Linked DNA regions of Homo sapiens: region 1 is linked to region 2. The links are contacts of gene promoters, found by promoter capture Hi-C in blood cells and fetal thymus (Javierre and others, 2016). All regions are on one chromosome and are shown on one strand. Each heading gives the region's core, a stretch centred on a gene start or on the middle of the fragment in contact. The rest is flanking DNA. Distances are from core to core; before and after follow the strand shown. Region 1 has its middle 30 kb from the start of WFIKKN2. Region 2 holds the start of ABCC3 (ATP binding cassette subfamily C member 3).

The links. The method cuts DNA at HindIII sites, captures the fragments that hold promoters and counts their contacts. A CHiCAGO score of 5 or more calls a contact.
Region 1: a contact is called between a fragment that was not itself captured here and the fragment with the promoter of ABCC3 in region 2, in 2 of 17 cell types (naive CD4 T cells and naive B cells). The highest score is 5.5, in naive CD4 T cells.

The regions. Positions count from the first base shown.
Region 1 is chr17:50,801,757-50,808,899 of GRCh38, forward strand. No RefSeq gene overlaps it. Among named protein-coding and RNA genes, the nearest start is that of WFIKKN2, 30 kb to the right of the region's middle. RefSeq lists a silencer at 4,411-4,632. The HindIII fragment of the contact is 2,841 bases long and covers 1,913-4,753 here.
Region 2 is chr17:50,632,494-50,636,130 of GRCh38, forward strand. It overlaps ABCC3 (ATP binding cassette subfamily C member 3), which reads left to right and starts at 2,388. Exons shown (of 31, transcript NM_003786.4): 1 at 2,388-2,488. The coding sequence starts at 2,444. RefSeq lists a silencer at 2,358-2,407. The HindIII fragment of the contact is 5,138 bases long and covers 1-3,637 here.

The sequences.
Region 1 (7,143 bases), core at 2,083-4,582, 170 kb after region 2:
TGGGACCCTAGATGGGCTCTCGGTCTGAGGTCAGGGTCAAGGGTCACAAGTGCTAGACAGGGTCCTCCATGATGGAAGGAGCCTCCAGAATCCTGGAGGGTAATTCACAGTAGACTGTAGTAGCCCTCTGAGGAGTGAAGCTTTGAGTGGTGGCCATCTCTGGAGAGAAGGAGGGTACAGCTAGTGGAGTTGATGGTCTAGGACAGCCCAGTGTTCCCTAGCAGTCATCCTCTGAGGCTGCCACAATGGCTCCGTGATTTGGGAGCAGAGATGCTGCACACAGTTGACCCTCACATCTATAGCAGCCACAGCTGGATGGTGTGACAAGCATTGCTGGGTGCTCTCTTTTCATCTGGGCACACAGCAAGACTGTATGCCCAGCTTCTCTTGCAGTTAGATGTGGCCGTGAGATTGAGTTCCATCTCAGTGGAGGGAACAGTCTGATGAAATGTGACTGCTTTTCTAGGCCTGCCTGTAACTATAAAAGCCTTCCCCACTTCACCAGTTCTTCATGCCCTTTCCCCTTTCATTGCTGGATGTCAACATCCCAAGTGATCTTGGGAGCCATGTGTTGAAGGTGACAGATCCCGGGTAATTGAAGACCTCTGTGGCAGAGAGCTCCTCCCCCAGCTCCAGGGACTGGGCCCACCTGTGACTGTTTATGTGAATGAGAATTCCACCTCACTACGCTTGTGCCATTATCATTCTCAGGCTTGTTTCTTGCAGCATTAACTGATCCTGTCTAATACAGACAGCCACAAAGCCGTTAGGTCCTGAGATCTCTTAGCTTTCATCTCCGGCTATTCTGTATCTGTTCAGCAGTTTTGACTCCCCCTAGCCTGGAGCTGATGTGGAATTTGAACTCTCACGAGGCACAAGCCAAGTCATTTTCTTTGGATGATTATGTTCTGATGTGCTGATGTACCATCTTGGGGAGCCAGACCCTGTAAAGTGGTTCATCCCCCCGCTTTACTGTGGGTGTAATTGTGCCTGGGGTGTTGACCTCAGCTAGGACCAACTTTCTCCAAATAGACAGGGGCAGAGGTCACCTGTGCTGGCTTCCTGTTGCAATTTTATGTCCCCACCAGAGCACAAATAGCACTCCCCTAGGTGAAGTGGCTCAGGAACAAGGAGGACAGACAGAAATGGGTTTCTCAGCTCCTGGCAGCTCATGCTGCTACCAGGCCTTTCTCCTTCTCTAGGAGGCTGGCTGTGAGGCAGGAGGGGAAGAAAAAAGGTGACAGTGTTTCACTTTTGTTTTGTTTTGTTTTTTTGAGACAGGGTCTTGCTCTGTGGCCCAGGCTGGAGTGCAGTGGCACAATCATGGCTCACTGAAGCTTCAACCTCCCATCCTCAAGCAATCCTCCTGCCTCAGCCTCCCAAGTAGCTGGGACCACAGGCGTGCGCCACAACACTCGGCTAATTTTTTATTTTTAGTAGAGACAAGATCTCACTATGTTGCCCAGGCTGGTCTCCAACTCCAGGGCTCAAGTGATCCGCCCACCTTGGCATCCCAAATGCTGGGATTAGAGGCGGGAGCCACCGTGCCTGGCTGTAGGTGTTTCTTGTGTCTCTGGTGAACCCTAGGAAGTATACTCAAACGAGTCAAAACCAAACCAAACAACAGGCCCCGATTGGAAGGACACCAGGAAGCTGAGAATGGCAGCAACTGGGGTGTCTCTGAAGACCTCACAGGCCACCGTTAGAGACCCAGCCCCTGTGGGCTTCAGCAGCTCCAGGCCACCTCCTTCCAGTCCTGCCCCCTGCACCTGTGAGGCAAGCTTGGCAGAAAAGTCCGGAGAAAGAGATCCAAAGGGTCTGGCTTGTAACCTCTTTAGGTGGGAGAAACGAGTTCAGTTTGAATCACAGGCCTCACCCTGCAGCCTGCGGCAGAGTCTTGGGGAAAGAAAGAAGCTTTGCTTTCATTAAAACTCAGAAACAGCCAGAGGCACCTTTTTCTTAAAGCCAGTATCTGCAGAGAAAAACAGCAGACTGGTCTCGCTTAGTAAGTGAAACAGAGGGACCTAGTTTAGATGGGGAAAAAGAAACACAAAACAAAGGACAAGAACCCAGTGAGTTTGCTGAGCGTATTTGCAGCTGAAGTGATTGACAGTGGGTGCAGGTCCTGAACCATGACTGTGTCCTGTGCTATCGAGCTTCATTTCACTCAGTTACCTAAAGTGTGTTCTACATCCTCGAGATTTATAATGATGATAATGGGGATGATAATGACTCATGTATTTTATTGTTCCTACTTTTCAGGCACAGTTTTTTGTTTGTTTGTTTGTTTTTGAGATGGAGTCTCGCTCTGTCGCCCAAGCTAGAGTGCAGTGGCAGATCTCAGCTCATTGCAAGCTCCGCCTCCCAGGTTTAAGCGATTTGCAGCTAATTTTTTGCATTTTTAGTAGAGACAGGGTTTCACCATGTTGGCCAGGCTGGTCATGAACTCCTGACCTCAAGTGATTCGCCTTCCCTGGCCTCCTAAAGTGCTGGGGTTACAGGCGTGAGCCACCACGCCCGGCATCAGGCACAGTTTTTAAGTGAGTTATATGTCGTAAATCCTCAAAATATTCCTATGGAGTAAGTACTATTATCCCATTGTACAGATGAGGAACCCGAGGCACAAAGTTATATGAAAAAGGCTCTGTAGAAAAAAATTAGAACAACAAAAATTATCTTTTTCTCTCTCTTTTTTTTTTGTTGTTTTTGCTTTTTTGGTTTTTTTTTTATGGAGATGAGGGTCCCACTATGTTGCCCAGGCTGGTCTCGAACTCCTAGGCTTCACGATCCTCCTGCTTCGGCCTTCCAAAGTGCTGGGATTACAAGCATGAGCCTCTGCACCTGGCCACTCATCCTTGTGTATGGAGTGGCTGGACAAAACACAAAGTCACTTAAGATAGACACTGAAGAGTCTACTTTAATTGCACATAGGGCCTTTGCCTAATGAGTCACATAATCGGGGCTCCGTGGAGTCATTAATATTTCACATCTTTTCCCATCAGCACAAAGTAAACACTATTTTAATAACCGCAATACTGCTTCTTTTTTTGGGCCCAGGAAATTGCTTGGTTCATTGTTCCATTTTAGAAAAGATTAAACAAAATTGATTTTCATAATTGTCATTCTGTACTTTTTTTTTGAGACAGAGTTTCACTCTTGTTGCCTATGCTGGAGTGTGATGGCGCAATCTCAGCTCACCGCAACCTCCACCTCCACCTCCCGGATTCAAGCGATTCTCCTGCCTCGGCCTCCCAAGTAGCTGGGATTACGGGCATGCACCACCACACCTGGCTACTTTTGTATTTTTAGTAGAGATGGGGTTTCTCCATGTTGGCCAGGCTGGTCTTGAACTCTCGACCTCAGGTGATCTGCCCGCCTTGGCCTTCCAAAGTGGTGGGATTACAGGCGTGAGCCACCGTGCCCTACAGTTTTTTTTTTTATTTTTTAGACAGAGTCTGGACAGAGTTTTGCCCTGTCATCCAGGCTAGAGTGCAGTGGTGTGATTTCGGCTCACTGCAATCTCCACCCCCCAGATTCAAGCAATTCTGCCTCAGCCTCCTGAGTAGCTGGGACTACAGGCGCACACCACCATGACCAGCTAACTTTTGTATTTTTAGTAGAGACAGGGTTTCACCATGTTGGCCAGGCTGGTCTTGAACTCCTGACCTCCAGTGATCCCCTGCCTCAGCCTCCCAAAGTGCTGGGATTACAGGTGTGAGCCACCACACCTGGACTCATTCTGTACTACTCGTCCCCAAGGGGAAATCTTATACTTTCTGATTCCACAATAAGTTCTGAGGAGGAGGTGAGGAGGGTTGCTGGTCAGACAGACACTGGGGAATCTACCTAGGAAGTGTCAATAGCCAGTTCAGCACACGCAGAAGTCCTGGCTGGACAGAGGAGGGCCCAGGTGTTCTGCATGTGGGAACACAGTCCTTAGGAACAGCTGGCTTGGAGGCGATGCTGCCTAAGCCAGCAACTTTTTCCAGGCCCCACTGGACGGCACCCAAGGACGTTATCCAGGCGAATGGTGACTCCCTGCAGGATCCATTCATTAGCCACATGGGGTGGGGGGAATGACATGGGGTGGGGGGAATCCCACAAGCCAAGGGTCAGTTACCAGGTGCAAACTGTCCAAGGAACACCTGGAGAACTTTCTTGCACTTTCTGACCTCCAGGGTCTCGACAAGCCTGGGCGTGCCCCAGAGGTCCAGTTTTTATGAATATTGGAGCTCCATGCTGTTCATCCAGGAAGCTCAAAGTTAAATGAAACACCTGGGGACCCCACAGAGTTATTATATTGTGGGGGGGTGCTAGTCTGGGCCCAGGCAGGATGCCCCATTTTCTCCACTTCAGGGAGCACCTGGGATTTGTGGTGGGAGATGGAGCTGCCCCCGTGAGGACTCTGGCTTGAAAGTGACAAAATCCAACATGAGCCAGCTTGGGCAGAAAGGGGGAATTTGCTAGAATCAACCAAAAACTTCAGCTGCACACTTGGCCGCTCCGCATGTGGGAAAGGCTGAGCTGCAGAGACCCTGCATCAGGTAGGGTTCCGGGATGGCATGGCAGCCCCACTAGGGCCACGTGGTTGGAATAGGGGGAGAAGCTGCCCCCAGGAAGAAAGGGTGTTCCCTGAAGAGGGCATGCGGCAGATCAAGAGGCAAATGTGCGCCTCACCAAGGAACTTGGCTTAGCGTTGCCAAATTTTCTCTGTGTTGGATTAGGGTCAAACTCTTGTTTGACTTGGCACAGAAGCTTGGAGGCCCGCTGGCTGCATGACTGCCTCACTCAGAGATGAGTATGGAGGGTCTAGAGGGGGCGCTGTGGGGCTCTGGCCAGAAACAGCCGAAAGTAGAAAACCATCCAAATATCCAAAAATTGATGAATGAATCAACACAATGTAGAACCTACAAACAACAGGCTGGGCGCAGTGGCTCATGCCTGTAATCCCAGCACTTTGGGAGGCCGAGGTGGGTGGATCACTTGAGGTCAGGAGTTTGAGACCAGCCTGGCCAACATGGTGAAACCCTGTCTCTACTGAAAATACAAAAATTAGCCAGGCGTGGTGGTGCACAATTGTAATCCTAGCTACTCGGGAGGCTGAGGCAGGAGAATCACTTGAACTCGGGAGGCGGAGGCTGCAGTGAGCCGAGATCGAACCACTGCACTCCAGCCTGAGTGACAGGGTGAGACTCCATCTCAAAAAAAAAAAAAAAAGAACCAACAAACAACAGAATATTATTCACCCATGTAAAGCAGTGAAGTACTGACACCCACCACAGTATAGATGAACCCTGCAAACCTCATGCTAAATGAAAGAAGCCAGACACAAAAAGGCCAATATTGTATGACTCCATTTATGTGAAATGTTTAGATAGGCAAATCCACAGAGACAGGAAGCAGATTTGCGGTTGCCAGGGGCTGTGGGGAGGGGGAATGGGAGTGATGGCTAATGGATTTCCTTTGGGGATGATGAAAAAGTTCTGGAACTAGGTAGTGGTGATGGTTGCACAACAATGTGAATGTCCTCGATGCCACTGAATTGCATACCTACAATGGTTAAAATGGTAAAATTTATATTATGTGTGTTTCATCACAATAATAAGAAAAAAGATGAGCTTCCTTCAGACAAACACATGGGAGCTTGCAGCTTGGAGACTCGGGAGAAGATGTGTGTGAGACGGTTACCCGCACAATGGGTGGGTTCCATAGCTTGGGTCAAGAGTTCAAGACCAGCCTGTGCAACATGGCAAAACCCCGTCCGTCTCTACAAAAATTAGCCAGGTATGGTAGTGCAAACCTGTAGTCCCAGCTACTTGGGAGCCTGAGATGGGAGGATGGCTTGAGCCTGGGAGCCAGAGGTTGCACCACTGCACTTCAGCCTGGGTGATAGAATCAGACCTTGACTCACTGACTCAAAAAAAAAAAAGAAAGAAAAAGAGAAAAGAAAAGAAGAAGAAGAAGAAGAGGAGGAGGAGGAGGAGGAGGCAACGAATCACAGAGGGAGAAACTGGAGTGAGGTGGTCAGGGTGCTGGGAGCCAATAGAAGCTGGAAGAGCCAGGGGCGGATTCTCTCTGTGAGCCTTGGCCCAGTGAAAATGGATTTCGGACTCTGGCCTCCAGAACTGTGAGAAAGTAAATTTCTGTTGTTTGAAGCCACTGAGTTTCTGGCAATTTGTTACAGCAGCCACCGGAAACTAATATAGTTATCATGAAACCATCATTAGTATAAAATTCTGTCTTATTAAAAATGTAAAATTAGGGCAGGCACAGTGGCTCATGCCTGTAATCCCAGCACTTTGGGAGACCGAGGTGGGCAGATTACTTGAGGTCAGAGGTTTGAGACCAGCCTGCCCGACATGGTGAAACCCCGTCTCTACTAAAAATACAAAAATTAGCCAGGCTTGATGGCAAGCACCATAATCCCAGCTATTTGGGAGGCTGAGGCAGGAAAATCACCTGAGCCTAGGAGGCGGAGCCTGCAGTGAGCTATGATCACACCACTGCACTCTAGCCTGGGTGACAGAGCAAGACCTTGTCTCAAAAAAAAAAAAAAAAAAAAAAAAAGAAAGAAAGAAAATGTAAAATAAATGTAATTTTGCTGCAAACCTTCTGGCATTTTGCATCACTCAAAACTATATTATCATACTTCTTTTAGGCAGAGAAAATATTTCATTGTTTGTGTGTATATGCATCAAAAGCACTAATAACTAAGACATTTAAAATATGCCATAATTTTAGAAACTCTGTTTTGAAATGTCTTGACTTTAAAAAATATACTGGGACCCTCAGAAAAGGGGAGTGGGCTGGGCCTTTTTTGGCTTCTGAGAGGTCCTGGCTGGTCCATGCCATGCGCCCATGGGAAGACTTCTCCACGCTGGCGCACTGATGACCATCACTAGGTGTCCTGTGCACCAAGTGAGACGGTCCCACAGGGGCTGGCCGGGCCTTCCCCAGCCACATCTGCACCACTATCCCAGCGACAACCTCAACAAAGATTCCTGGGTTCTTTCTGAGCCGCATAAGTCACCAACTCTGTCTTCTTCCCTTTCTTGCTCCCTTGCCCAACACATGCGCCTGAATCTCAAGCTCCAGAGAGTCTGCTGGTTGCCTGGGCACGGCCAGGGATCTGGGAAGATACTG
Region 2 (3,637 bases), core at 1,138-3,637:
CATCCTAGAAATATTGTGGTTATTATTCAAGGGCTCTGTGAAAGGGGACACACTTCCTGAGTGGCCTGGAGGGGTAAAGCCCCAATACCTCAAGAGAGATGGGGGAAGGTGAGGATCGCTAAGGGCCCCCACCACGCCCTCAGAGTGCCCAACCCAGTGCTATAGCCTTGGGAAAGCAATAGCGATAGAAAAGCCTGGGGCTGCAAGGGATGGTGCTTCAGCTCCGATGCTGAAGCCAGAACCCAAGGGTCCTAGCCCAAAACTAGAGCTCCAGCCAGTGCACTGCCTGGCCAACTGTGGGGCTGGAAAGTCCCGGACGGAAGCTCAGGCTAGTTCTGGGCTCTCCATCTCAGAAAGGAGGTCTGATTGGGGAGCTCACCTCCCAAAGGGCCCTAAAGGAAAGTCCCCAGGTCTCCTCAAGCCCAGAGCAATCTGGTGCCTATGACCCCACAAGCCCTAGAAAAGGAATGGGAGAGGAGGGAGAGTTGGAGGAAGCCGGTGGGTAGACAAGGTCAAAACACAGGGGCAGTGGGTGCTGATGAAGCCATGACCAGGGTCATGGAAGGGGTGGAGGAAGGTTCCCAGCTGCCTAGGCCATAGAAGCCTGGCCCACCAGGGCTGGAAGAGAGCTTAGATATCACCCTGTCCACGTTTCTCAAGAAATGAAGTCCCAGAGGCATCAAGGAGCTTATTGAGATCACACAGTGTATAAAAGGTATGGAGGGGGATTGGAGGGGACTGAGTTAGTCCCTGCCCTTGGGGACCTCTCAGATTAGCAGGGAAGACAGACTCTTCATAACTAAATATAATCCAAGGCACGCCGTAACAAGGTGTAAAGCTCTGTAAAGTATTTTGCCCAGAGATGAAGGTAGGGGGACAGGAGAGGGAGGGTATGTGTGGATGAGTGGAAAGGAAGAGGGCAGACAAAGAAGGGGCTGAAAGAACTTGCCCAGTGGAGGGGTAGAAGTCCCTGGTCTGACTGCCTGGGAAAGGGGAATCTTCTCCACTCCCACCCCTATCCCATGCCCAGCCAGATCTTGGTTCTGATAGCCTATAGCCAAGGAGACTTCCCTTCTAGTGACCTCCTGGCTGCCCAGAGAGATAGGAGGTGGCTTGCCCCTTCTGCACTCTTACTGGCTCCCACCCACACCTGCCGCTGAGCAGCCAAGGAAGGAAACACCTTCTCTTGAGAACAAGGGCCAGAAAAGGGGTCACCGGGGTGAAACTGGACAGACCTGTGGGCAAAGGCAGGGAAGAGAAGGGCCAGGGAAAGATTTGCCAGGGAGAATTCCTTCTGAGCCCCAACAAGCGGTGCTGAGTTGGCGTCTGGGATTGTGTTAAGGAAGACAGGGCAACAGCGGGATTGAGAGATGGAGGGATCCCCGCATCTGAGGGGATACCGGGAGAAGGAGAGCTGAGGCAAGCAGGAGAAGGAGAGCACTGACAAGCCCATTTTACAGATCAGGAATGTAGAGTTTCAGCCTTAGGAGGAGGACGAGGACGAGGACACTCACGTGGGGCTCCTCCTGGGGCTTCACCTGTCCTTCCCCCCCCAACCCTGATCAGGCTGAAGCAGAGGGAATTCACACATGTTGGGTGCCCACTAAGTGTGCCAGGAAATACGCTTTGCCTACCCTTTCCATTCAATCCTCAGAGAACCCTGGGAGGAAGATTCTCTTCTATGATTGTCTCTATTTTACGGATGTGAAAGTAGAGGCCCAGAGACGTGCCGAGGTGATGTGGCAAGGTCAGGGAGCCACAGAGCCTAAGAGGGCAGCAGTTTAAGAGGACATAAGAGGCCCCCGCTGGACGATGCTGCGGCCCCCACCCCCGCCTCACGGGTACACACCCGCGGAGCACACCCCGTGTGCTCCCCGTGTGGCGCCTGCCAGTGGTCTCTGGAACCTGATGGGGAAGAGGTCAGCTTCCTGATTGAGCACAGAAGCCCTTCCCATTTTACAGATGAGGAAACTGACCTCCGGAGAGGAACGTGACCTTCTCAAAGATTCCTTTTTTACTAGGAAAGATTGTTAAATCCCTCTCCCTACGTCCCCTACTCAATGACTCATCGGCCCCACGGACTTGTTCGGGAGTGGGAGCGCCTGTGTATCCCAGTTCCCCCTTGGAAATAGACTCGACTCCTGGACTGTTAGCCTCGGTATTTAGAGAGACATCCCCCTGGCTTGGCCCAGGGGCCGCTCGCAGGGGCTGTCGCCGTGCCAAGGGCCCCCCCACCTCTGCCCCAAAGTCCCTCCCAGGGAGGCGCTGTCGCAACCCGCGGGACGGGGGCAGGGAGACCGGACCCAGAGGCACTGGGGTAGGGCTCGGCAGGGCGGGTCCGGGCGGAGCGCGGGGTGCGGAGGGCGGAGGCGGCTCCGGCGCCCGCTCTGCCCGCCGCTGGGTCCGACCGCGCTCGCCTTCCTTGCAGCCGCGCCTCGGCCCCATGGACGCCCTGTGCGGTTCCGGGGAGCTCGGCTCCAAGTTCTGGGTAAGGCGCGGGGCTCCGGGGTCACTGCGCGGGGGCCAGGGTCGGCCGGCTTCGCCCGGTCCCCGCCGCCTGCCTTCCCGCGGGGCCGGCAGGTATCCCGGGACGGAGCCCCTGAGACGGCCTGGGCGCCCGGGAGGGGGCGATGGGCTCGGGAGGGAGGTTGGCTGCGCCGCCCGGAGCCGGGTCCCACGCGGTGTCGGGGACCTGCCCTGCTCTGCCCTTCCCGGCTGCAGCACTGGGGAGCCCGGGAAAGTGAGGAAGAGTGCGCGGCTGGGGCGCAAAGGCACAGTGCGTGGCTGGGTGAGTCGGCTCCATCCCAGCCCCTCCGTCGGGTGCGGAAGGGGCGTTTCGCAATCAGCCGCGGGTTCCTGATGGAGGGTCTTCCCTCAGCATCTGCCTCAGGTTAGGACTCGGTTGCCCACCTGGGCATGGATTGCCCCCAGGGCATCCAGAGCACCTGCTCAACCAGGTGTTTTGGGAGGCCGGCTGTGCAGTGTCCCACCCTTCTTAGGAAGGTTTCCTGCCACCTTCTTTTCTCTAGGTAAGACTGAGGTCTGAGAGCAGGCCATCCCCACCACTCCGGACTCAGAAGGGAGAAGCAGACCCCAGTCTGGAGACAGGTGCAGGGTGTCAGGATTCCTGTAGTCCAACTCCCTTCTCACAGATGGAGAAAGGGAGGCCCAGAGAGAGGAAGGGACTTGCCCAAAGTTACCCAGTTCAATGAAGGCAGAGCTGGGATAGAAAAACAGGCTACAGGCCAGGTGCAGTGGTTCACGCCTGTAATCCCACCCTTTGGGAGGCAGAGGTGGGAGGATCACTTCAGCCCAGGAGTTTTAGATTACTGTGAGCTATGATCGCACCACTGCACTGTGGCCTGGGCGAAAGAGTGAGACCCTGTCTCTAAAAAAATAAATAAATAAGAAAAGAAAATCAAGCCTTTGGTGACTCTCACTCCAAATCTCTTTCTAAGACAGGCTGCTCTTCAGCCTGCTGACTCCAGCCTCCAGCACAGTTCAGGTGAGCTAAGTGCATACAGCCTAGGAGCTTTCTTACCAACTTGCAAAACTTACTTGCCTCTATGAGGCAAGTGATCATGTGGTCTCCGTTTTACAGAGGGAGCTCAGATTAAAGGTGCTTCTCTGTGGTCAT